Linked DNA regions of Homo sapiens: region 2 is linked to region 1. Evidence: promoter capture Hi-C in 16 types of primary human blood cells and fetal thymus (Javierre and others, 2016). All regions are on one chromosome and are shown on one strand. Each heading gives the region's core, a stretch centred on a gene start or on the middle of the fragment in contact. The rest is flanking DNA. Distances are from core to core; before and after follow the strand shown.

Evidence for each region. The method cuts DNA at HindIII sites, captures the fragments that hold promoters and counts their contacts. A CHiCAGO score of 5 or more calls a contact.
Region 2: a contact is called between the fragment with the promoter of WWP1 here and the fragment with the promoter of OSGIN2 in region 1, in 1 of 17 cell types (non-activated CD4 T cells). The highest score is 5.7, in non-activated CD4 T cells.

The regions. Positions count from the first base shown.
Region 1 is chr8:89,900,943-89,903,849 of GRCh38, forward strand. OSGIN2 (oxidative stress induced growth inhibitor family member 2) reads left to right here and starts at 1,628. Exons shown (of 6, transcript NM_001126111.3): 1 at 1,628-1,895. The coding sequence starts at 1,852. LOC124901974 (a long non-coding RNA gene) reads right to left here and starts at 1,464. Exons shown (of 2, transcript XR_007061001.1): 1 at 1,077-1,464. RefSeq lists enhancers at 1-272, 273-1,038 and silencers at 1,332-1,630, 1,380-1,719, 1,750-2,199. The HindIII fragment of the contact is 4,461 bases long and covers 1-2,907 here.
Region 2 is chr8:86,340,814-86,343,826 of GRCh38, forward strand. WWP1 (WW domain containing E3 ubiquitin protein ligase 1) reads left to right here and starts at 1,734. Exons shown (of 25, transcript NM_007013.4): 1 at 1,734-2,117. WWP1-AS1 (WWP1 antisense RNA 1) reads right to left here. Exons shown (of 6, transcript XR_007060994.1): 2 at 2,777-2,847; 3 at 2,269-2,463. RefSeq lists a silencer at 1,825-2,284. The HindIII fragment of the contact is 10,725 bases long and covers 1-3,013 here.

The sequences.
Region 1 (2,907 bases), core at 378-2,877:
CACGCCATTCACCATGGTCTCGATCTCCTGACCTCGTGATCTGCCCGTCTCGGCCTCCCAAAGTGCTGGGATAACAAGCGTGAGCCACCGCGCCCGGCCAGGTACTTTATTATTATTTTTTGATACGGAGTCTCACTCTTTGGCCCAGGCTGAGTGCAGTGGCGCGATCTCAGCTCACTGCAACCTCCGCCTCCCGGTTTCAAGCGATTCTCCTGCATCAGGCTCTTGAGTAGCTGGGATTACAGGCGCGTGCCACCACGCCCGGGGCTAGGTTTTGTATTTTTAGTAGAAACGGGTTTCACCATGTTGGTCAGGCTGGTCTGGAACTTCTGACCTCAGGTGATCCGTCCGCCTCGGCCTTCCAAAAGGAATTTAGGTACTTTAAAATGCTGTTATGTATGTTAACGGAAAAGTAACTACATGCTTCATTTTCAGAACCAACATTCAAATGAAATGAACGTGTCAAATCGACAAAAGCTCAAAAAAGAGAAAAACATATAATACTTAAAAGTGGTTAATATACTCTTAGATTGCATAACTCTGGGGCAGTCTGAGTCCTATGATTTTCTTTTAAGACCCCAAGACTCTAAAATACCTGCTCATCACAAGTTTGTTCAGTGACAACATTCAGTAAAACTTAACATTTGTTTTACAAAATTATGTTGAAAGATATAAACATAAACGTATATTTGAAGCACAAAAATAATTACGGCTTTTTTTGGAAGCGGAGTTAGACATTTCCGTAGAAAAGTAGATGCAATCAATCTCTCCTGATTTTTGTCCTCCCCACCTTTAATTTTTGACAAACCGAATAACGACACTCACTATTGAGTACTTTTCTAACTCCCTATTGCATCACAAACGCCCGCAGGGGCTTAAAAAGCAGCAGGGGTTCCTGCCCTTCCCCACACTGGCCGGTGTGGTCTGGGGCGGGCCTGATGAGCACCTGGATTTTCACCCGGCGTGCTGGTAATTCCTACACTTGTGGGTGTTTGAGAGACATGAAGAGGGGAGGATGACCTCTTCCCGGAAGCGGGACTTCCATAAAAGAAGCGTGGTGGGCGGGTCCCGGGCACCTGTGGTTTGGTGAGTCCTCCAGGTAACTGTGATGCGGGGGTCAGCGGGAGAGGCACCCGGAAGCTCCCGGCGTCTGCACCCCGGCAGCGCGAGGAAATGCCCAAAGGTGGGTTCTCAGGCGTGGGAAGCTCGACCCTTCCCGGGGTCCTCGGCGAAGTGGCCGAGGCCGCGCCTTACGCAGGGAACTCCGCCGGGCCATCTGGGTGGCCCGAGTTCGCAGCAGCTTCTCTTCCGCTCGTCCCTCGGCCCTCTCGACGCGCACCCACCGGCCTCACCAAGTCGCACGCAGAGGGGCGGCGGGGCGCTGACCGAGGTCTAGGTCTCGATTGCCGCCGGTCGAGCCGCGCAGTTTGCCTGCAGACCTCGGTCCCCTGCCCGCGCAGCCTCGGCTCCATCAGGCCCGGCCCCTCGCCCGGGCCGTGGCTCCACCAATCGCAGACTTCGCCCGCCGCAGCCGCACCTGCGAGGAGGGGCCCGCGCGCCGCTGCAGCCGCCGTCGCAGCGTCCCCGCCCCGCTCCGCCCCTATCGCGGCGCCCCGAGATCACCCGCCTCCGGCGCCTGGCTCCCTGCAGGCGAGGAGCGGAAGCCGCTATCTGGAGGCGGACTCCGGCGCCACAGAGCCGGGGCAGCCGCGGCAACGGCGAGGCGCGAGGCAGGGGCGCCCGGCAGACCCCGCGACCCCGAGCCAGCGGGCGCCCCGAGCGGGCAGCCTCGCCGGGGGAGGCGGAGGCGGCCACGGCGGCCGCGCTCGGGCGCCCCTCGCGCAGCGCTCCATGCCCGTGTGGTGCTGCCGCTGCTCCCTGGCCGGTCATTTCAGGTGACTTCCTCGCCGGGGATGGGAGGGGAGCAGGCGGGGATGCCGCGCTCTCGAGCTTTTTGGCCTGGCCCGGGCCGGGACCGGGGTGGAGGGCGAGCGCCTGGACCGCAGCGTCCTCCCGCCTCGGCCGTCCTGCCTGGCGTGGGGGTGGGGTGGGGTGCGGTGTGGTGGGGTCCTTGCTCCGGGGAGCCCTGCGCTGTTCCCTTTTCTCGCTCTGGACCGCGCGGGTCACGGGACTGCGGGATCGGCTAGGCCGGACTGAGTCGGTTACGGCGAGCTGAGACTTCCCAGTAGTGCAAAGTTTTAGTGAAGGGGGTTCTACGAAGTGCCTGCCTCCCTAAAAAAAAATTATTTCTTAAAAAGTCTTCTAAATAATGTAATGAGTGGAAGGAAGGTAGGGAACTACATTTCAGTGTCATCTAATCACAAATAGATTCTGCCTTGTTAAGATGTTAGCCATGGTAAGACGTGTGTGTTGTAGAAATTTAAAGAATGAGGCGGTTTTACAATCACCTTATGGGGAAAGGTTTTAGGGGTGATAAAATATAATACATTTCTAAAATAAAAGTATGTTTTCTAGATCTAGCACATTTGGTCAACACCTCAGTCATTGGTGGAAAGACCAGACACTAGAAACTGATTTTAACCCTGGGGTGAAGAATGGTTAAGCATAGGGAATACTTTAGTACCTTGCTTTACATATACTGATGTTCCAGAATAATTCTATGTAAGACTTCTTCCCTGGTAAAATATGAAATTTTGATCAAGCCTTCCTAAATAGTGGGTTTCATACAATTTAGGTAACCCATGAACTTGGATGGAAAGAAAGGTATATCATTTCACTAAATTTTAAAAACTAATATTCAGTTAAAATATAAGCAACAAATCACAGTAGTATCTGTGACTGTCATCAGTAGAGATCATAAAATATGTTTATATCACATTGCAGTTAATATAGAAATACTGTTTATACTTATTCAAAATTATAGTAACACATCACTGAATTTATTGA
Region 2 (3,013 bases), core at 484-2,983, 3.6 Mb before region 1:
CTTTCTGGAAGGTAGTTGCCAATATGTTTCAAAAGGGCTAAACTTGTTCATACTTTTTTATTACTTTTAATAATTTATCTAAGACAGTTAATAAGGACATGAACAATGGTTATGGAATACTATTTATAATATTGTTCATTTGAAACCAAACAGTCAATAACAAAAGGCTGGTTCAATATTGGGTGTCAGCTTGAGGACTAGGTGAGTACTAAGAGCTTCTGAACGGGGAGGAAATTGAGCAATGAGGGGAGCTGAAAGTGAGACACAGAGCAGGAAGAGGAGGCCTGCATGCATTCTGGAGAAGGAGTCCAGATCCCTGCTGGGGAATACCTACGGAATTTCTGAGGACGTGTTTGTAAGCACATTATTGCATCTATTTAAAGGGACCAGACAGCAAAAGCAAAAAGATGAAGAAAATCTTAGTACATGTTTAAAGCAGAGATGAGTGGGCACATATGGGGCACTGTGAAGAGTTTTTCATAACAGGAGAGATAGAGCATGTGAGCATCAAAGGAACCTTGAATATCACGTTAATCTTTGTCAGGAGAGCTCCGAAAAGCCAAAGAATGATTTTAAGCAGTGGAATGACACAGATGTATATTTTCGAATGATCTTTGTGGATATAATGTGCACCAATTTCAACTATGAAGCCAGAGGACAAGAACTAATGCATGGAGGTAGGCGGGAATGTGCATTGTTCAGTCAAGAGATACTTGTTGAATTCTGTACACACTCATGAAGTGTTGGGGTTGTTTTTGGTACACAGTTCTTTCAAAAAGCTCAGTTAAAATGGAAGGGGAGAGAGAACCAGAGGTTTTAAAATCAAGGGAAAATTTAGGACCTAATCTTAAAACGTGATTATGCTGAGGAGTTGTAGGCAGTGGAGAGGGTGAAGTTAAAGATGTGCCAAGGACCGCCCACAGTGGGGAGCAGGCAGTGGAGAGGAGCAGGGACATCTAGCCTCCGAGATAGAAGGAAAACTAGTAAGTCTGGGTGTGGACGTAGATATAATCTATGGGGGTTGGTCAGGTGGTTGGGCAAAAGCTGTAGAAATCCATGCCTGAAGGCTTCTGCTTCTCTGAAGTAGAAACCGGGTCACCTGGTAAGCAATGTGGTCCCACTGACTTCTATTTGCACATTGGCCTTTCTTCTAAAAGCAATACACATAACCAACAGTACTTTTCTAAACTAGTTGACTTTTCTGTAAAATGCAGACAGTAGACACTACTTTGTCAGATTGTTGTGTGCGTTAATTGTGCGGACACGTATACTCGGTCAATAAGTATCTGCTTTATCACCGGGCTGATGTGAGTGAGGACTAGGTGGTGGGGCTTCCACAGATGAACGTTTTGATTAATAAAAAATGGACTGAAAGTCTTCGGGTATGACCAATGGCTAAATGCAATTATTTACTCTTGCAATGTGTTCGAGGTCACCCAGCTAGGTCAAGGAGTATTTATGGACAGCCTACTTTTGCCCCCGGACCTTAAGAAGTCCTGCTCCGGGATCAGCCGCCGACCGGAAAGTCAAATTAGCAGTGCCCAGCGCGAGCTTAGAGCAGCCTCTTCCCAAATCTCAGCGGCGGCCCCGCCCCTTCCACACGTTCAGGCCCCGCCCCTCCCTACTATTGGCTGTCCGTCCCCCTCCGCTAGACTGCTCGGAAGACCCGGAGGAGCGGAGTTTTCCTAAGGCAGCATCCGAGCGCCCTCGCTGCGCATGCTCGGGGGAGGCGGATTCCGGGTCCGGAGTTGGAGGCTTTGGGCGGCCGCGGCGTAGCGCGCGGTGCCGGGGCCGGCGGGGAGGCGCGCGCTTAGGGCGCGGCGCCGGCGACGCGGCCACGCGGCGCGCTCCCGAGGAAGGGAGGTGTGGGGTCGGCTGGGGGTGGCGCGTGGACGGGGTGGGGGTGGGGGGAGGGTCGGGTGTCGGCGAGCTCCGCGTGCGGGTTCCGAGTGGCTGCTGGCGGCCTGGGCTGCCGGGGCCGACGCCTGGGTGGCTGCTGCCGCCGCGCCTGCTGCGAGATGGCGATCTTGGGCGCGGAAGGGTGAGGGCGCCCGCCGCAGGAGGAGGTGCCGCTGCCGTGGCCGCCCGGCTGCCGGGAGCCGACAGCTTCGCGCCGGGTAAGGACGGCGCGGCGCGGGGCTGGGGGTGCGAATGGGCAGGGCGGGAGGGGGCACGGGCCCTGAGCCTTGGCCGCGGTGCTGGGCGCCCGGCGCCGTCCGCCCCCGGGCTGGACCCTCCTAGGACCCGTCGGGGGACGGTCCGCCCTACCTTGGCTACCTTCTCCAGCCCGGGAGTCGGGAGTTTTCTGGGGTGGGGTCACGGGTCTTGCCCGGAGTTCGCCCTGGCAAAGGCCTGTGCCAGTGATCCTGGAGCGGAGCGAAGTGTTTCCGTGACTCTGCAGCCGCAGTTCTTAGGCTTCCTTAGCCTTCTCTTCGCCTTCCTCCACCTTTCCCTAACACCTCCCTGAAAACACAAATACATGGACTCATTGCCCGTTCCCTGACTTTCACCCCAATTTCAGCGTTGCAAACCAAGGACTCCAGCTTTGGAACGTCTTTTTCTGACATGTTTTTATCACTCTCCGTTCTTCACCGACTCTGCAGCTCCCCATCCCCCGCCCCCCCAGCGCAACCCCCACCTCCACCTTTTGTGACCTGGTAGGTTCCAGTGACCTTGCAGATTTTACCAGTCCTTATCTTGTCTGTGACTTACAGACTCTCCTTTCATCTTCGTGTTCTTTTTTTAAAAAAATTTAATTTTGTAGTTTGCTCCTTACCTTTACGACCTTTAAATGATCAGTCTTGTTCACAGTCCTTTCTTTGCTCTGCCGATTTGGAGTTTTCTCTGCTGTGGTAAATATATGAAACCTTCATTACCAAAGAAGAGTAGTGTCTGTTATAATTTTGACATTTTTACTCTTTCAGAATAAAATATTTTCCAGGGGCTTGATTTTGCCTTCTTTTTCTATTTGATAAGTTTAACAAATTTTTTTCTGTGTGTGTGTAGGTTAATG